Regions from separate parts of the Homo sapiens genome. Here all the other regions are linked to region 7. Evidence: promoter capture Hi-C in 16 types of primary human blood cells and fetal thymus (Javierre and others, 2016). All regions are on one chromosome and are shown on one strand. Each heading gives the region's core, a stretch centred on a gene start or on the middle of the fragment in contact. The rest is flanking DNA. Distances are from core to core; before and after follow the strand shown. Region 1 holds the start of JARID2-AS1 (JARID2 antisense RNA 1). Region 2 overlaps JARID2 (jumonji and AT-rich interaction domain containing 2). Region 3 overlaps JARID2 (jumonji and AT-rich interaction domain containing 2). Region 4 overlaps DTNBP1 (dystrobrevin binding protein 1). Region 5 overlaps JARID2 (jumonji and AT-rich interaction domain containing 2). Region 6 overlaps DTNBP1 (dystrobrevin binding protein 1). Region 7 holds the start of CD83 (CD83 molecule).

Region 1 (2,700 bases), core at 130-2,629, 1.1 Mb after region 7:
GGCCTGCGGGGCGCGGGGAGGGGAGAGCGCGCGGGGAGGGGGTGGGAGCGGGGGCGGGGGCGTGGGCGTGCCGGGGAGGGGGCGCGCGGCGCACAGCTGCAGCGGGCGCCCCCCACCGCGCACACGGCCGAGCATGGCGGCGGCGGCCCGGCCGGCTTCCCGCGGCCCTGCCTGCGGGCTCCGACGCAGTCTCGAGAGCAACAGGTTAAGCCGGCGAGACGTCAGCGCGCCCCCTCTCCGCCCCCCGGTTCTTCCCCCGCCGCGCGCCGGCGCCCCAGCCCTTCTTCCCTCCCTCCGCCCCCCGCGGCGCTCGGTTCCCCGACGCTCCCGGCCGCACTCTGTTGTCATTGTGACGTCACAAAGGGACGGGCTCGGGTGGAACCTTCCCCTCCTCCTCCGTGACGTCAAAAGTCGGGCGGGAGGCTCCAGGCGCGGCGGGGCGGCGGGGGGAGGAGGGAGCTGGGCGGGGGCGGGGGCTGCCGCAGAGCCGGGCTGCGGCGTGGGAGGAGGAAGAGGAGGAAGATGCGCTCGGCCTCTGCCTTCCGCTCCGGAGCGTCGCGCTTCCCACCAGGTGAGGGCCGGGGAGCCGTAGGTCCCCAAAGGAGTGCCACTGGACCCTGTTCTGATGCCACTTGGGAAGCGGGGAGCGGGGAGGAGGCGCCTCCTTTCTGCAGGAATGTTTTCACTTCCTCTGTTCCAGGTCTCCTGATGGTGTTGCATTACTAGCGTGGTGCATGTGTCCCCTCTCCAGTGCTTATGTAAAGAAATGAAAGTATTCAGGGAAAGCTGTGCTTTGTTGGAGGACCGCGTTGTGGATTTGGCCACCTTGTCACTTGAAGTCGTGTTAGGGGTGCTTCAGCAGGATGTGGCCGGATGCCTTTCATGATGATGCTGCACAGCAGCAACTGTTGCTCTTTCTGGAAGCTTTGTGGTACTACGGTGGGGGGGCTTTCCTTTGCTGTGCCGGCTCTGTACCTACTGACTGTTATTTTGGGGGGCTGGACCAAAGGAAGACTTGTCATTGATAAATGTACTGAGAAGAGCACAGGACTCCTTTAAGTCTCAAGGTGCTCTGGGCTTAGTTCTTCTGAGCAGGGAAACCAGAGGCTGGCGTTCTGTTTTCTCTTTTGTAAAATGGAAAAATACCTGCCATTGCCACTTAACTAAGTCACTGAAAAGATCATGTGCATGGAAGATGTAAAACAGTATGCCTCTTTATAAGTAAGGTGGCATTATTACTTGAGCTGGTGGAAGGCAGCACGTTTCCCACAATTGGTCTCAAAAGCCCGGGATGCCTGCTGAGTTGCCATTTAGTTTATTACCTTAGCAAAGCAGAGTTGGGGGTGCGATTGTCGATAGTAGGCTTTGGGAGAAATGATTGTTATATTTCGTAATAAATGATGTCCTTGAGAAACTCATAAGTTGCAGTGTAATCCTGTCTTAATTGTGTTGAGCACGACTCCCACTGCAATACCTTAAATAACTGAAAACATTTGCCTTTGAAAGCCCCAATCGACTTGGACAATAAAAACAGTTGCATGTTTTGCTCTAGAGATATTTTCTGCCGTTTCCATCATTCCACTGCCTGGTTATTCCTAGGGAGAATAACAGATAGGATACTGGGGCTTCACCACTATTTGATCAGGTATCAGTTTGAAATAGAGAATCTCTGCCTTATGAAGATAGTAATTCCTGTAGTTAGCATGAAAACAAATTGCCAGTTTGATTTTCTAGGACAGCTCAAGCAGAATTTGTACCACTAGGCTGTAAGTTTTAAGTATCTAATTTTCTGATTTGAAAGTGTATGATTTAAAAATTGGAAAAAGTTTTTGTTATAAGCTTCAAAAGGATTTACTATAATTACAACTACGTAAAATTACAAAGAAAAAAGTAGGAAGAACACAAAATATACAGTGGTTGGATTTATGAGGTTTTTTGTTTTAAAACTTATTCATCACAAATTGTTCAGTCACGTTATTTTACAGTTGGTGGGGTGGTGGGGAAATTTGCACGTTATTTTATTGCTGTATTTTTTCTTTCCTGGGATGTTTACGTGGCTTTTCAGTTACTTGTTTCTAGTAGTGGAAAATCTTGCTCTGTGTTACTTAGGTGCAGGGCAGTGGCAGTTTAGCTCCTATCACTGTACAGGGACAGTATGGAAGGAAGACACAATGAAGTCCAAAGTGTCACTAAAATTTGAAAGAAAAATTATGTCGACAAGTAATCCAACTTGGTTTATTATCCAGGTTATATTATTTTACAGTAGGCTAATACCTAACTTGTGTGTCCCTGTAGCCACTGGCCCAAATAGACAACTAGAATTATTTGGTACTCGGTAATGCCTGTTTCCTCATAGTGGGTTAAACCAGTCCCTGTTGCTGGGCTGAAGGCTATTGACGCACTTCCAAGTGCCTTGGAAATAACTCCAGTGTTAATATATACCGTACTCCAAATGTTAAACTTTCCTCCTTCAGAACAAGACAATCTTTTGGAGTATATAATTGGTGTCTGTTACCTTCAAAATGGAACTTTTTTTTTTTTTTCAGAGAAGACACGAGAATGTCATATTAAAAGCGTAGTTCGTTAAAACACTTGGTGAAGGCTAACCTAGAGAGCATTTGTTTTTTTGTTTCCTTTTTTTTTTGAGACAGGGTCTTGCTCAGCCACCCAGGCTGGAACGCAGTGGTTCCTCACTGCAAC
Region 2 (2,700 bases), core at 68-2,567, 1.2 Mb after region 7:
CCCTTTCATTGTAGGCATTCTCTTCCACCTGTATATTAGTATTGCTTCTAGCTGCGTGATCGAGGGTTTGGGTTAATGCTGACATATTGCAACTTACTGGATGGCAAACAGTTAAGTTGTCTTCTTTGGCTGTGGGGAGAGATGGTGAATTCAACACTCTGAAACTCTGAACACAGTGTCCAAAGAGACCCTGGGCTTCCTGGAGTGTTATTCTCTTACTCTCCTAAACTATTCTCCCACTCCCATGAAAAAGAAAATCTTAAAGCGGCTTATCAGTATCTGACATAAGACAGAGTGAGGCCTTTCCTTTTATCTACATAGAGATAGCTCAAAGATCTGCTTGAGGGGCAGCAAAAGGCATGTCAGCAACCACCAGGAAAGGATCCTGAAGCCTAACCAACTGGTTATAAACAGCAGTAGGTGCCCAGGAGGGAACCGATACCTTCTGCAAGAGCATCAGTTGTGAAATGGCCTAGGTACAAGGATGTTCTTAGAATCAGGTTTCAAATTATAGTAACATGTAGACAGACTCTGAATGCTCTGGGAATGGAGTAAGCTGGTTCTAGTGAATTTTCTGGTTGACTGTTTCAAGCCATGGCATTAACTCCTTATGAAGGATATTTTTTGGCTGTCCTGTCTTCAGAAGTCCGGTGTGACGCGCGAACTCAATGGTTGCGTTCCCGAGGACCTTATGGAGTGCTTCCTGTCTGTCTGCCAGTGCTTTGTTACTGTGCACCTCTGTAGATATGCAGTAGGGGGTTTTTGGGTGGTGTGCATGCTGATCCCCAGAGGGTTTATATTTTACCTGCACTCCTGAGGATGTGTTTGTGTTGCTTGGGGCCCTGAGAAAAAACTGCATTCAGCGGAGGATTTAGTAAGAAGAAAGTTGGTTCCATGAAGTGTACATCAGCAGCCCCCGAGGATGCTGTGGGGTTGCAACTCCTAAGGCTTAACTGCGGCGGGGATCGGTTAATAGTATGGACAACCCCACACCCCAGAACAGGGGATAGGTGATGGACGACAGTGGGACACCATACCTAATGTGCATGCCTGCTTCCTAGAAATTGTGATAGTGTGGTGACTCTTTCCTTCTCTGAAAAGACCAAACCCCATCACTTAATATGGAAATTTAAAACCAAACCTCCAAACCCTTCTGACAGCATTTTTGACCAAATTGGCTTTTCGTAAGGGTAGAGCTAGATTTTCCGAAGAGCTTTAAAAACACAGCCTAGAAGCTTATCTTTGTGAACTTTTGCTGTTGTCAACAGTGGATATCTTGCTGCTGCTAATAGAAAACAAAAAAGTTCATTTGCCAAAATGCTTGTCATTTCCTCCTGAGGAGTGCAGCTTAACGCCAGGACTTCATTTAGTCAGAGGGAAATGGTTGCTACCTCCCTGTTAAGCTTCTTTCCATTATCCAGTTATGGCAGAATGAGTGTTGGGGCGGCCTGGGGAGATGGGGGTAAAATAAAGGAACAGCTAAGAAGTGGTTCTGCAGAATGTGTACTTATATCCGAAAGCCTGGATGGAAAGGACGGTGGCTTTGGAAGGGGTGTAAAATGGGAGGGGGTGGCAATCGCTGAAGCATGACAAGCCTCCGAAGGCCTCTGGGACTTGAACACAAAAAAGGGAGCTTTTTGCAGCTCTTTCACATGCACACGTCTCCCTCTGCCCCATCCATCCTCCCCTGCTGTTTTGTAAATCTCCCAGTTGGAAATTTTTAACATGGGAGAGCTTCTTCCTGTGCTTCAGTTGGCAGAATGCTCACACGCAGCTGCAAAGAATTTGCTTTTCCTTTTCACAGCATCTCTCATTTAAAAGCATTAGTGAGACTACAGAACAAAATAAAAACTTCAGGATTTTTCAGAAGTGGAAGCCAAGTTTAATTAAAGTCAAGGAAGTTCGGGGCTCTAACTCTTTTGTTAAACCTCTTAAAGTCAGGCGTGTGCGTGTGCCCATGGCAGGCAAGGTAGGAAATGCCAGTGCCTGTTTCTCGTTAGGAAATTTAAAGGCCTACTTGTCTGGTGTGTGCTTGGGGAATGTCCTAGAATTTATCAAAAGATGTGCTGAACCATCATGTCTTTGGTGGCCTCAAAATGCTTGCCAGTGGTGAGGTAGTTGCCCCTTTCTTGAGGGAGGAGGAAAACCGTTAAATAGCTTTCTGTCTCCTCCCAGGCCTCTGTAAAACCTCCTAATCTGAGTGCCCTGTTCCCTGTGCTCCACCCTTAGTCCCTAGACCAGGCCACTGGGCTGTGAGCATTCTTGTTGGGGGGGGCGGAAAGAAGTTTCTGACTCGATAACTGCCTCCTAAAGTTGGATTTTTAATCTTTCAATAGTATTTGAACCTTCAGCATTTTTTACATTTTATTTTAAGAGACAGGGTCTGTTGCCCAGGCTGGCGTGTGGTGGTGTGATCACAGCTTATTACTGCATCCTTGAACTCTTGGGCTCAAGAGATCCTCCTGCCTTCCCTGCCCCACCCCCTAGTAGCTGGGACCACAGGTGCATGACACCACACTTGGCTAATTTTTAATTTTTTTTTGTAGAGATGGCTATTTTAAAATTTTTTTTTTTTTTTTTTGGTAGAGATGGGGTCTAGCATTGTTTCCCAGGTTGGGTATGAACTCCTAGCCTCAATCATCCCACCTCAGCCTCCCAAAGTGATGGGATTACAGGTGTGAGCCACCTTGCCTGGCCCAG
Region 3 (2,700 bases), core at 38-2,537, 1.3 Mb after region 7:
TGCATATTACTTTTCATACTGTTTGTGCAGGATGTCACCAGCTACCTGAGATTTATATGCACCAAGTCATGTTTTATTTGGGAAAAAGTTCATATCTTGTAGATATTTAGTGCTATTATCTTCGATTTTTTAATTTTTTTCCTCCTCTTTCCTACCCCCCTAATCCTTCCCTGGAATTAAAAAAAAAAAAGATTCACCTTTCTCTCTGATGCCTGTTTTCCACTTTAGTATTCCAAGGGAGTGAAGTGTCTGCGAGCAAGAATGGTGTCTTCCTGATGTGGTGGTGATGTTTGGATTTGCAAGGCTTGCCTTGTCCTTGGGCTGGCTTCTTCATGGATAGAGCTGATGAATATATTTTTAAGTAGTTATGTCAGCGTTCCTAAGGGTGACTCACAGTTCTGAAGTAAGTTAACGTGTTGCCTAAATGAGTTACTCCTCATTGGAAGGGCTAAGTGGAAGGAAATGCAGATTACAGATTGTATTGCTACTATTTAATCTTTAAGGGAGTAGGGGAGTGGATTTTTGGAATTGTGATATCTTTCTAAAATATATATGAATGAATTTTTCACCTTCCCCTCCACCTTCTAAAGTGCTAGGTGGTAGTACTAGCACTTTAAAAGTCAGTATATTTTGCTGTTTTACTGGCAGTTAGAAAGTTGGCGCTAGAAATCTTTAGCAATACTGACAGTTTGGAGATTTAGATTTTACTTCTCCAAAATAATCAGGACTTTTCATCTACTCTTACGAAATGATAGATCCAAAAGATTTATTACAGAAATTACTACATTCAGGTACCACTTGTTTTTTTAAGAGGAGGTCAAAGATCACAGAAGCTTGGAGCTAGAGAGAGCCTTAGCTTCCCTTTTTAAAATAGTCCTTAAAAAAACCACCTAAGAAAAAAAGACCCAGCTTGCCCTAGGTGACAAGTTAGGTGAACTAAACTCAGGTTTTGTGACACCACTACTCTTTTGCTTGTACCACTGACCAAGCAAAACATCATAATGTTTCATCTTGAGGGGAATTCAACTAACAAAAGATTTCTTTACGCAAATTCCGGCTATGGCAAATGTTTATTCTAAATAGCTTCCTATGTAACTTAATTAAGACAAGTGCTGCAAATATTTAATATCCTGCGGTTTTTTGCATAAACAAAGTGTTCCATCAGTTTATGTGTAAAGCAAGAAATGAGGCTGTGGACCACTAGGGCTCCATCTCCAGAAGTACCATAAAGCAGGCATTCTGCGTAGGATAACTCTGCTTACAGAGCCAGCTGACCTCCCGTTTTGTCATTGTGTGATGCCCTCCCATTCTGGTAAATCAAACCCTGACCGTTTAAAACTGTGGGAACTGGGTGGACCTTGCGCTTAGAAGGATATGGTCTATGCTAGTGCCTCTCATTACAGAGTTTGCTATGAATTGGTCTCTGCTAGCCTCTGGGTTCACTTGAGGATGTGTTTATTTTCTCTTTACTGTTCAGGATGTTTACAACCATTCTGTGTGGTTTGCTCGCAACCGCACTTGCATTTGAATTTGGTGGGCAGCTTGCCCTGGGTAGAGGGTATCCCTTGCCCGACCCCCCACAACCTCCAGTGCGCACACACACGGGCACACTCTTGTTTCTTTGAGTGGCTGCCAGGTTTGTAGTGTGTGTGTCTGGGGGGCGAATGGAGTGGGTAATTATTTTGGGGATGGAAACACAGGAAATTTTTTTTTTTTTTGAATAGGCCTTTCAGCAAGTTGGCAAAGCTTCAGGGCCAGCTCCCACACCGGCACAAAGAGCGCAGCCATGCCGGTCATTTTGCATTTGCCAGACACGAACTGTCTGATTTTTTTTTTTTTTTTTTTTTTGAATGAACAGACCCTCCCTCCCACCCTTTCCTTGCCCTTTGTTTAGAATTGGGATGTAATCTAAATAATTGGATTTACCAGCTTACGTTTTTAATATTGGAAAATTGAGTTAATAAAATGATGTTTTGGCATGTACTTCCCTCAGCAAGGGAACAGCTGTGCATTCACTTTAAGCCGCCTGGTCCCCCTTGCTCCTGCTTGATCCAGCTGATTTGTGTGTCACGCCATGCCCTTCTTGGGTTTGCAGGCTATCAGAAATCCTGGACAGAAATAGGATTTAATTAACCTGGAAATTGCTGTTGTGCCGCAGTCAGGGCTACCCTAGAGATTGAGTGCACAGATAGCAATAAGCTGGTTAACTCTACACTGTTGATGACCCCAGAGGAAACCTGGAGAAACAGTGCCACCCTTGTGTGAAGCTTCTAATGGCAGGATGCCCAGGAAGCTTCTAAATCAATCATTTGGGGAGGAAGGGGCACAGGGAGGGTATTACAAAAGAAAAAAGTATTTGGCATAGGACTGTTAGTTCATCCCTGGGGTTTCTTTACAAGCATGGTCTCGTGATTTATTGGTTAACTTTCCAAATAATGTTAGTGTGTATCTTGCTGTGCTCCTTCGTTCTCATAAAGGTGCTATATATTTTATTTTAACAACAAACAATGAAGATTGATTTTGGTAAATTTTTAAGCGGTGATACCTAACAGCAAGTGAGAGGTGGCTGTGGGAGGCTTAGCAGAAAAAGAAAGTCACCTTCCATGTAGCTTAGGGAGTGGATGGATGGGGAAAGGACAATAGGGATCTTTCCCCCTTCGAGCTCATGCAGCTTGATCAGGAAGTACAAATACTCTCTGA
Region 4 (2,700 bases), core at 144-2,643, 1.5 Mb after region 7:
CGAGAGTAAGGATCTTACTTGCTATCTGGTTTGTTCTCTGCTATATCCCCAGTACCTAAAATAGTGCCTGCCACATAGTAAGCACTCAATAAATATTTGACAAATTAATTAAGCAAAGCATTGAAGATATTCTATTATTAGGCACTAAACTTCCTTTCCAGCTTCATCTCCCAGGACTGCTTCCATCTCTGAAATGTGCTTATCCAAATCTATCGCAATTTCTCCTCATTATTCAAGGCCTAGTTTTAGAAACCCCTTCCTCTTTGAAGCCTTCTGTAAATGCATCCTAACTAATGACTCTTTCTTCGGACTCACATACCACACTATTTGTATCTTTAACATTCTGTTCATTCTGCTTTGCTTTATATCAGCACCAGTCTAGGGCATCTGGTGGACAGAGACTGTTTTAGACACCTTTGTACCTGCAGGATCTGGCCCAATATATAGACATTGTTTAGGAAAGACTAGGCAAACCTGAGCATATGGGCTCTCAAATCTTTTTTAAGCTTCTATGAAAAAGGACACTTTGAGTGCCTAGTCTAATGTCTGGCACTGGCACTTAATAGGAACTCTGTAGATATTTATGAAATCAAGTTGAATACTGAGATTATTTTCTCTTTAAGATGATGATTAATCCCGGAAAAGTCAACATTTCAAGCAACACTTCACCATTTGACCACATTGTAATTTAGATGACTGGCTCCAACCCCCTTTGTGTAGGTTTTGGTAGATACTACAAGGACGGAAGAAGACAGAATGAGGACACTGGGCAGGGGTGCAGGTGGGCGGCAGGGGCAGTGAGGGCTTTGAGGGGGAAACACCCTCTAGCTGCAACAATAGCAGGTTTTTTTATCCCCAACCACAGGAACCCAGTGCATCACAAATAGGAAACACCAGCCTGTGACAGGCAGCTGTAAACCCGTCAGTAAATCTGATTTTCAGTTCCCTGAAGGGTTTGCATGCCTAAATACCTCAATCCTGAGGCCTTTGGTCGTAACAGCTCAAAAGGTAAAAGTCAAAGACCAGAGTGGCTTCGAAGTATGTACTTTGGTATGTCCAAAAGTCTTCCCCAGAGCTCAAGCCAATCTCTGTAAAAATGGATATTTTATGTGAACTCTCCAAAAGGCTCCAAGAATTCTGACTCAGTTAAATCAAATTACAACTCACTTTAGGTGAGGGGAAAAGATCTTTGAGTGAAGCTCAGAACCAATCCTCTTCAGTCTGTGGCCTAAGGCTGGCCCACCACCCAATTAAGGCAGGAAGAATGTGATGTAATCACTAGTTTTTCTCAAGGTTGACATAATTGTTACTACGCATAAAAATTTACAAAAAAGGCCATAAGTCCATGGACAACCTAGAGCTCCCCCCAAACCACCAGTAATCTCTACACTGCCCTTAAAGAACAATGGTCTTAAGCTGCACTTTTTCAAAGTTTGAATGGAATGTAGAAATTTATTCTTATTGGACATGGTTTCATCACCAAAGTGACATTCTGAGACTGATAAGGAATCGTTCTATTTTACTAAAAATGAAAAAAAGTAAATTTATCTAGAGTTAGGGCCTTCATATGAGTTTTCAGAAAGTGAAAATGATCACAGAAGCTCCGAAGAGAGGATGCTGCTCTGGGCGACAGCGGGAGCTGCACTGGCTGCACTGAAGGAGCCCAGAAATGCCTGAGGCCTTCCATTCCATCCCTGGGGCAGCCTGCACACCCGGTGTTTCCAATTATTTTAGAAGGCAGCTGCTCTGGCTTCCACACAATTGCTCTGCCACCAAGTGTTCTACAGAAACGCCAGGTCCAATGTGATAGCTCTGGGTGGCCAGGGCCATGTTTTTTCATTTTTTCTTTCTTTTTTAAGAGATGGGGTTTCTTTCTTTTTTTTTTTTTTTGAGACGGAGTCTCCCTCTGTCACCCAGTCTGGAGTGCAGTGGTGTGATCTCGGCTCACTGCAACCTCCACCTCCTGGATTCAAGAGATTCTTCTGCCTCAGCCTTCCAAGTAGCTGGAATTACAGACGCACGCCACCATGGCCAGCTAATTTTTGTATTTTTTAGTGGAGACGGGGTTTCACCACGTTGGCCAAGCTGGTCTTGAACTCCTGACCTCATGATCCGCCTGCTTCGGGCTCCCAAAGTGCTGGGATTACAGGTGTGAGCCACCGCACCCAGCCAAAAGATGGGGTTTCTTTGTGTTGCCCAGTCTTGAACTCCTGGGCTCAAGGGATCCTCCTGCCTCAGCCTCCCAAGTAGCTGGGACAACAAAATTGTTGGAAGATTCCATAAAGCTTCCCCATGTGGCCCTTTAACAGTCGTCTGTTTTAAAAATTGGTTTTTAAACAGATTTAATGTGTGAAACTTATCTGATCTGGATTTGAACAAACCAACTGTAAAAAGTCATTTCTAAGCACAAAACAAATCTGATTATGGACTGCATAATTGATAATATCAAAAAATTAGTGTTAATTTTATTATCTATGATATCAGCATTGCATTTATGTAATATGTTTCTTTTTTAGTGATGCAGCTCACGTCTCTTTCATCTTTGAATTCCACATTACCAACATATAATAAACACATGTGTGCTGTGTTTAGCGTCATCTTTTCTCCTCAAGGCAAAAATAATCAGTTATGTAAAGGAGGTTGATCTCAAGCTGAATATGGAAAAGTTTAACCGAACAGCTTAAATGTAGGAAATTGAGG
Region 5 (2,700 bases), core at 124-2,623, 1.3 Mb after region 7:
CCTGTATCAAAAATAAATTAGTAGTATAATTTACTATTAAATGCAAAAAAGTGAAAGCAAAACAATCAGCAAAAGGCTTAACATTTCTCTTAACCCTTGATTTATATTTAGAAGCTTCCACTGATCAGGTTATTTGGAGTTTATTTTGTTCTTACAACCTGGAGATATATTTTATAAATAAGAGAAGTACTAGTTTAATTTTCAACTTTAGAGTTATCATGGGTGAAATGTACTCTCTACTACAGAAAGTAAAGAAAAATTGAGTAATAGATTATGATGTGGCAGTTTTGAACACAAAAGATGTGGAAGTAAATATAAAGTAAATATGGGTAAATCTCGCCTATCTTCTGTTTCAAGTTATCTACGTAGTTGCCATTTTTGTTTCTAGTATCATTTGCATTTGCTTTTGCTTGAAGGATTTTAACATTTCTAACATTAGGTCTGCTGTTGATCATTCAGCTTTTGTATGTCTGGGAAGATCTCATTTCACCCACATTAAAAAAATACTTTTATGATAATTGTAGAATTACATGCAGTTATACAAAATACACCTTCATTTCTTATAGATATTTTTGCTGGGTATAAAATTTTAGGTTAATAGTCATTCACCATCAGTACTTCAGTGACACTGCCCCACTGTCCCGATGTGCATCATTTCTGATGAGAATCCTGTTGTTATTTTCATAGCTTTGTAGGAGCAATCATTTACCACAATTTTCTTTTGAATCCCTTACTGGTTTTAGGCAATTTGATACGATGTGCCTTGGCAGTTTTTATTTCCAGAGTTTGAGATTCATTGAGTGTATTAGGTTTGTAGATTTCATTTACTATGGAAAAATTAGAGCCATTATTATTTCAAATATTTTCGTGTGCATTCGTCTCCCCTTTGGGGACCTAATTTTCATATATATTACTCTGAAGTTGTCCCATAGCTCATGTGTTTTGTTCCTTTTTTGATCTGTATGTTGCATTTTAGATAGTTTATACCCTAAATCTGCTGGTAAGACTATTGAATATATCTTTTATCTCAGACATTGTTATTATATTTTAGAAGTTACAGCTGGGCACGCCTGTAATCCTAGCACTTCGGGAGGCCGAGGCGGGTGGATCACCAGGTCAGGAGTTCAAGACCTTCCTGGCCAACATGGTGAAACCCTGTCTCTACTAAAAATACAAAAATTAGCTGGGCGTGGTGGTGCGCATCTGTAATCCCAGCTACTCAGGAGGCTGAGGCAGGAGAATTGCTTGAACCCAGGAGGCGGAGGTTGCAGTGAGCCAAGATCACACCACTGCACTACAGCCTGGGTGACAGAGCAAGACTCCATAAAAAAAAAAAAAAGAAGTTAGATTTTGGTCTTTCCATAATCTTCAGTGTCTCTAGTAATATGCTTATTCTTTGGTGTTTCTTGAACATGTGGAGTACAGTTACAAGAGATATTTGAGTATATGTGCTATTTTTGTCTTCCATTATTTACAAAACAGTTTTGATTGATTAATCTTCCTCCTCATCAGTCATATTTTCCTGCATCTTTGCATGTCTGGTAGCTTTTTATTACTTGACAGACACTAAATTTTTCTCTGGCTGTGGGAAATGTTCGTATTTCTCTACATATTCTTGAGCATTGTTCTGAGATCTGATTATTAGGGAACAGTTTGATCTGTTTGGATCTTGGTTTCAAGCATGGTTAGGTAGGGCCAAAGCAGTGTTTACTGTGAGGCATTGTTTCCCTGCTACTCAGGCAAAAACCCTTACGAGTATTTTACTTGATGTCCTATGGATTATGTTTACCATGTAGGCTAGTAAGAATGGGCACTATTCCTGGTGCTTTTACAATTTGGATACTGTTCCTGCTAATCCTTTCTGGAAATACTTTCTCTTGGGTAGCTTCCTAACACAAATGTGCTTGTTAGTACTCAGCGGAAGACATGAGGAGCGCCTTTGGCAGATTCCATTGTTGTCTGTGTGGCTCTGGCCTCTGCTGTGCTCTGCCTTACACATTATATCACCTTGGCCTCCCCTTGTGTTTCTCAACCCCGGCTCTGCTTGCCCTTTCCGTAACTGCTGCAGCCTGGACATTCTCTCAGGGCAGTGAGCTGGAGGGATCATTTGTTTTCCATCCGTCAGGGATCACAGTATGTTGCTATATGGTGGCCGTTGTTTTGTGTGGATTTTTAGTTCTTTCAGACAGGCAAGAGGTATAAATCCTGTCTAGCTTCACTAAAAGCGGAAGTTCTTTCTGTTCTTTGAATGTTGAATGAGAGTGTGAGAGAGACACGTACCATCAGGAAATGGAACTAGCCACGGTCATAGCTTTTCATTTAGTTTTGTTAGTCTTTAAAAAAAAAAAAAGGTGAACAGCGTAAGTAAGCCCTGACTCCAAGAAAAAAAATTCAAAATTAATAAACATAAGCATTCGGCCTATAATAAAAATAGTAAACTCCATTCCATAATAAAGCCTGTGACTATTAGAAGTCCTTCTTTGAAGCTATGTAATCTGTCTCTTCCGTTAGGAAGAACTGACCTTAGCCTAGATAATATTGTGCTAAAAATTTTTACCTTAATTCTTTTGAAATACCTGTTTTTAAGGTTTTACCACCCTCACTTGGCAGCTGAGTTAATAGGATTTGGATCTAAGCTTTCACATCTATAATGCCTGGACTTTGCCACTGTACCATGTCACCTTCCATAAGTTGTAGCAA
Region 6 (2,700 bases), core at 86-2,585, 1.5 Mb after region 7:
TAATTCCAGCTTCTCAGGAGGCTGAGGCAGGAGAATCACTTGGACCTGGAGGCAGAGGTTGTGGTGAGCTGAGATCACGCCATTGCACTCCAGCCTGGACAACAAGAGCAAAATTCCATCTCAAAATAAAAAAAGAAAAAGAAAAAAAAAAAAAGGGTCCTAAACAGAACATAACATGAAACTTCCAGAGAGGAAGGAAAATGTTGCTATCTTTGGGGGAAAATGTCCCTCTTTGAAATCCAGTATCAAACCTCTCCAGTAGCATTAGCCGGGCACAATAATTCAAACCTGTAATCCCAGCTACTTGGGAGGCTGAGGCAGGAGGACCTCTTGAGCAATATACCAAAACCCTGTCTGAAAACAAAACAAAACAAAACAAAAAACTATCTCCAGTAGCAATTGTTTCAATTCCTTTGAAACAATTATAGTGCCATTTTTTTTTCTGAGCCAGAATGAAAGACTAGTAATAGTAAAAGGCAGGCAAGAAAAAGAGACCTGCTTCTTAGCCATAGAAAAAACGGGGCCAACACAGCCATGCTAGAGCACTGCCCAGAGAGGGTAGAGAAGGGCTGCAGCAGAGAGGAGGAGCACTGTTTTCTTGTTGCTGACTTCACCATGGTTCTTGCTTACCACCGATGTCAGAGCAGGTATGGCAGGCTGCCAGGTGTGCCTCTGCCTGTCCCAGCTCTCATATCCGTCAAGAAAACCAGAAAAGTGAGAAAAGCATAGGGTAATATCATGGTTTTAGCTACATTCAACTGAAGACTAAAATAACTGATAAATTTTATACTTTTGAAAGTATCTTTGAAAAACACAGTAACTGATGGAACATAAACTCCAACACAACTATGGGTCATAAAAAACATAAAATATTATTCCAAATGTAATAAATGAATTCTAAAACACTGAAAGTTATTACAGACTCTAAATTATAATGTACAAACTATAATCAATCTAACTTTGGAAAAAAGGATTACCTACTTTTCAACCCAGGATAATAATAATTTTGCTTTGCTTAATTTCAAAAAACTTTTCTCGAGATTGCTATATCTTTAGTCTCTGCTCCTCTCCACCTCAAAGATACACTTTAGGTTTTCATGCCTCTTAAAAACAAAAAGCTTGAACCCCAGCGTGTCATTTGCATAACTGGAGGAAAGAGATAACGAAAAGAATTTTGTAAACCAGTTAGAGAGACATTTATTATTTAAAAATGGCAAACAGATACTCATTGTTCAAAATAAAGCTTTATGAACTTAAATATCAGTCCTAAACTCTATTTACTGTCAACCCAAGGATCTAATAAACTGTTAAATATTCTAGCTACATCTGTTCTCGTGACTACACATAAAGTCTGAAACTGCCAAGATTTATTCTCTAACAGACACTTTAGAGCAAAAATTTTGTTAAGTTCAATTCCTTGCCAACTCATAAGCTTAGGTTTAATTTTAAAAGAAAATGTAAGGTGTGATTACACATTTATGAAGCCAACAAATTCATAGCTCTCAGTCTGTTTTCAAGAGGTCATTGGCCTAGTAAATGTGATTACATTATAATAAATACAATAAAATAAAAATGTCAATTTACTTTCAATTAACCACCTGGGAACCATCTAAAATCTAGCATCTAATAGGGAGAGGGGGGAGTAAAAGGAGAAAATGGAGAAAAGAGATACAAGTTTCAGCCTTTTTTATATTTTCCATGTCTCTACTTCACTTTTTGAACAGAATACAGTTACAATAACAATTTTTACTGTCCTTGTCTTCTAATTCTAATATCTGTGTCAGTTTTTAATGGCTTTGATTGACTATCTTCCTCCATATGTTTTCCTAGTAATCTTTGATTAGATACCAGACATTGTGATTTATCTTGTTTGGTGCTAGGTATTTTTATATTCCTATAAATACTCTTGAGCTTTGTTTGTTATACAGTTAATTTACTTGGAAACAGCTTGATTCTTCTGATGCTTGCTTTATGATTTGCTAAGCACGTCTTCAGCAGTATTCAGACAAAAGCCAATTACACATCCTACTGAGGCAAGAATTCACCGAGTCCACTTCCCAATACCTCAGTAATTATGAGTTTTCCCAGTCCGACTATTGGGAAGAGGCTCTGTGTGAGTGCCAGGCACTGTTAGCTCACCCTCTTGGATATTTTTTTCCCTCCTGCCTTGGATAGTTTCCTCACCTGTATTATCAGGTGAATATTCATGGAGACCCTCTCAGAAACTCTCTCCTCTCTGGGACTATGTCCTGTAAACTCCAGCTGCCTTGATCTCCCCAGATTTAGCTCTTCAACTCTGAGTCTGCCAGGCTCTGCCTGGGTCCACTTCCCTGCAGTGCACCCTGGAAACTCTCTCTAGGCAGGATGCAGAGGCAATCACAGGGCTCACCTCACTTGTTTCCTATCTATCGGGTACCATCACATCTCTTCTTTGTCCAAAATCCAGTGTCTTAAAAACATTCTCTCATTTATTTCACCTGGTTTTTCATTGTTTCGGGGGAGAGAATAAATCTGGTCCCTGTTACTCCATCCTGGTGGATGCAGAAGTCTGCTCCCTTTTTGTAAAGTCATTGCCTGCGGAAAAGTTCTCCTGCTCCCCTTTTCATTCAGCATCCAAACAGACTTCTGCTGCAGAACTGCAGAAGCTAGTTACTGCCCTGCTGCTTGGCTCCTTCAGAGAAGGTGCTCTCGATCTTCTCT
Region 7 (2,700 bases), core at 1-2,500:
TGGATGGACAAAGATAGAAAGGTTGGATAACAGTTTGTGTTGGCAAACAGGCACTCTCTTTGCAGATGGGAATATAGATTGAAGACACCTCCTTGCAGGTAATTTTTTGGCAATATTTGACAAAATTGGAAACTCCCCTTCACCTAGCACAATTTCCTTGAGGTATTTATTCTAAGAAAATAAGCAATTTTAGAGCAAAGATTTATCTACACTGAAGTTTCCCATAGCAATCACAGTATTGTTTCTAATATTAGTAATACAAAAAGAAACAACCTGTATGTCTAACACTAATCGATTCTAATTTATGGTGCAACTGAACAATGGACCAAAATGATGCTGTTGGAAGTTTTTAATGATGTGGAACCGCTTGCAAATTATTAAGCTAAAAGAAAGTAGGTTACAAGATAGCAGGAAGAATAAACCATTAAAAATACCAATCTGTGCACTGACAAATGTTATAAATATTTTACGTTATGTTATGTTATAAACATTTTATAATATAAAAAAATGTTAACTGAAGTTACTTCCTGGATGAATTACAGGTGATTTCATTGTCTTCTAGAATTTTCTTTTCCAAAAATGTTGTGTATGCGTGTAATTATTATTTTAATAGGAGACACTCTCCTTTGGTGATATAATTTAAACAGGACGGTACTGACTGATAACCTCCCGGGGAAGGCAGGGAGCCAAGTACTACAGACTTGTATGTTTCCATGGAAATCTAACGCGCCTTTGATTATCACAGATTCTGGAGAAGAGTGAGGACTTGGGTTCACCAGTGCGTTCCCAAGGACAGGCTGGGCTTCTGAGGAAGTTGCCCACCCTCTCGGAATCTGGTTTGGCCTCCGTAAAATGGGCAGATCCCGCTCGGATGGCCCGGTTCCCGGCTTCCTTTTGCGGGTCAACGGCAGCGTCACGCGCGCGAGCGCGGTCTGCAAAGCCCCCAGCGCTGGGCGTCACGCGGGGATTGCTGTCGCCGCTGCCAGCCGCAGCAGCGACGCGAACTCGGGGCGCCCGGCCCGGGCGCGCGGGGGCGGGGACGCGCACGCGGCGAGGGCGGCGGGTGCGACGGGGGCGGGGACGGGGGCGGGGACGGGGGCGAAGGGGGCGGGGACGGGGGCGCCCCGGCCTAAGCGGGACTAGGAGGGCGCGCCACCCGCTTCCGCTGCCCGCCGGGGAATCCCCCGGGCTGGCGCGCAGGGAAGTTCCCGAACGCGCGGGCATAAAAGGGCAGCCGGCGCCCGCGCGCCACAGCTCTGCAGCTCGTGGCAGCGGCGCAGCGCTCCAGCCATGTCGCGCGGCCTCCAGCTTCTGCTCCTGAGCTGCGGTAGGGCTCGCGAGCGCCTGTCTCGCCTGTCGCCCCCCGCCCCTCCACGACACCCCCTCCCGTCGGTCGCTTGCTCACGACGCGCTCTCTCTTTCTTGTAGCCTACAGCCTGGCTCCCGCGACGCCGGAGGTGAAGGTGGCTTGCTCCGAAGATGTGGACTTGCCCTGCACCGCCCCCTGGGATCCGCAGGTTCCCTACACGGTCTCCTGGGTCAAGGTAGGTGCTGCGATACCCACGGGCTGGGGTTTGGTGGGCTCATTTGAAGACAGCAGGAACCATCTCCCCTAGGCTGGCGACCCTCTGTGGCTGCCAGGTGGGGGCGAGGGGCGTCTCCCGCAGCTGAACTTGGAGTACCCAGCCTCCCGTCGCGCCTCCCCCACCCCATCCGCATCCAGGTACAGGGCCGAATTAGGTTTTGCTCTCCGCAGACCTCAATCCCCTTCCTGTCACTGAAGGTGGCCTGAGATGAATGATCCACTTAAGATGTTTTGGAAGGGCAGAGACTCTCATTTGGATTAATTCTGGAGGCCACCTGTGGTTGTGGGCCAGCAGGTCAGGAAGAAAGCAACAGGGACCTAGATTTGGGCATTGGACAGGGGGAATGTCTCCAGACTTCTGATTTCTTGTGTTTTGTGACTGTGATGCCCATGATACATGGGAGGGGGAGGGGGCAATTTGAAAGGAAAGGCTAAGACACAGAAGTGACTTAGGCCATTTCATCCATGGTAGTTATCAGTGGTCATCTCCTTTGTGGGATACCCTTGGCTTCCTCCCCTAGCCCTCCTCCTCCTTCCTCTGGCAGCCTTGAGAGCATCAGGTGGATGCATGAGCCGGAGCCCGCATGTGTAAGAACAGGCCTTGCTGCTCCTACTGTAAGTGGACTGAGTGACAAGGAGGCTTTTTCAAGGTTTCCTCTTGACTGAAACATTCTCAGATTCTAAGATGGCAATGATGGTGTCATTCCAAAGCCAAGCAGCTACTGTTTGATATCACTGGTCCTTCTTTAAGTCAGGCCACTGCTACCACAGCACCTCCATTTTAACCCAAATGAATATGATATTACAACCTTACTCTGTAGCTCTCACTGATTTGCTGTCTTACCACGGGGGCAAATCTCTGCACTTGTAGCTTTCCCCAAAATGCAGGGCGTTCTTCTGCCCACCATAAAAGATACTATAAGAAACTGTACGTCTTTGGCCACTTAACAGTACAAGGCATCATTGCGGTGATCTCTTTGTGTGTGTGTCTCCTAACTGGATGGTCAGTTCCCTGGGGGGCAGTGGCTGTATCCATACTTCTGTGTATTCTTCACGGCACCTAATTTTTGCCCTATAAATTGCAAAGGTGCTCTGTGAATTCAGCCCAGCACTTC

What was found. The method cuts DNA at HindIII sites, captures the fragments that hold promoters and counts their contacts. A CHiCAGO score of 5 or more calls a contact.
Region 1: a contact is called between a fragment that was not itself captured here and the fragment with the promoter of CD83 in region 7, in 5 of 17 cell types (fetal thymus, total B cells, total CD8 T cells and 2 more). The highest score is 9.3, in fetal thymus.
Region 2: a fragment that was not itself captured here is called in contact with the fragment with the promoter of CD83 in region 7 in 1 of 17 cell types (fetal thymus); the score reaches 8.9 in fetal thymus.
Region 3: a fragment that was not itself captured here is called in contact with the fragment with the promoter of CD83 in region 7 in 1 of 17 cell types (naive B cells); the score reaches 5.6 in naive B cells.
Region 4: a contact is called between a fragment that was not itself captured here and the fragment with the promoter of CD83 in region 7, in 1 of 17 cell types (naive B cells). The highest score is 5.7, in naive B cells.
Region 5: a fragment that was not itself captured here is called in contact with the fragment with the promoter of CD83 in region 7 in 2 of 17 cell types (naive B cells and fetal thymus); the score reaches 5.9 in naive B cells.
Region 6: a contact is called between a fragment that was not itself captured here and the fragment with the promoter of CD83 in region 7, in 1 of 17 cell types (fetal thymus). The highest score is 5.3, in fetal thymus.

Annotation. Positions count from the first base shown.
Region 1 is chr6:15,248,394-15,251,093 of GRCh38, forward strand. The region is part of intron 1 of JARID2 (jumonji and AT-rich interaction domain containing 2); the gene reads left to right. JARID2-AS1 (JARID2 antisense RNA 1) reads right to left here and starts at 303. Exons shown (of 2, transcript NR_120502.1): 1 at 117-303. RefSeq lists a silencer at 49-528 and an enhancer at 717-1,558. The HindIII fragment of the contact is 915 bases long and covers 923-1,837 here.
Region 2 is chr6:15,267,010-15,269,709 of GRCh38, forward strand. The region is part of intron 1 of JARID2 (jumonji and AT-rich interaction domain containing 2); the gene reads left to right. Among named protein-coding and RNA genes, the nearest start is that of JARID2-AS1, 20 kb to the left of the region's middle. RefSeq lists enhancers at 358-916, 917-1,474, 1,475-2,033, 2,034-2,591. The HindIII fragment of the contact is 168 bases long and covers 1,234-1,401 here.
Region 3 is chr6:15,442,910-15,445,609 of GRCh38, forward strand. The region is part of intron 3 of JARID2 (jumonji and AT-rich interaction domain containing 2); the gene reads left to right. Among named protein-coding and RNA genes, the nearest start is that of DTNBP1-AS1, 100 kb to the right of the region's middle. RefSeq lists an enhancer at 1,615-2,115. The HindIII fragment of the contact is 913 bases long and covers 832-1,744 here.
Region 4 is chr6:15,657,681-15,660,380 of GRCh38, forward strand. All of the region lies in intron 1 of DTNBP1 (dystrobrevin binding protein 1), which reads right to left. Among named protein-coding and RNA genes, the nearest start is that of DTNBP1, 4.0 kb to the right of the region's middle. The HindIII fragment of the contact is 1,779 bases long and covers 505-2,283 here.
Region 5 is chr6:15,419,075-15,421,774 of GRCh38, forward strand. All of the region lies in intron 3 of JARID2 (jumonji and AT-rich interaction domain containing 2), which reads left to right. Among named protein-coding and RNA genes, the nearest start is that of DTNBP1-AS1, 130 kb to the right of the region's middle. The HindIII fragment of the contact is 2,522 bases long and covers 113-2,634 here.
Region 6 is chr6:15,601,724-15,604,423 of GRCh38, forward strand. The region is part of intron 6 of DTNBP1 (dystrobrevin binding protein 1); the gene reads right to left. Among named protein-coding and RNA genes, the nearest start is that of DTNBP1-AS1, 57 kb to the left of the region's middle. The HindIII fragment of the contact is 189 bases long and covers 1,242-1,430 here.
Region 7 is chr6:14,116,522-14,119,221 of GRCh38, forward strand. It overlaps CD83 (CD83 molecule), which reads left to right and starts at 1,251. Exons shown (of 5, transcript NM_004233.4): 1 at 1,251-1,327; 2 at 1,429-1,544. The coding sequence starts at 1,291. RefSeq lists silencers at 577-871, 999-1,118 and cis regulatory regions at 614-1,522, 862-1,678, 862-1,517, 1,683-2,183, 1,754-2,580 and 1 more. The HindIII fragment of the contact is 8,136 bases long and covers 1-2,700 here.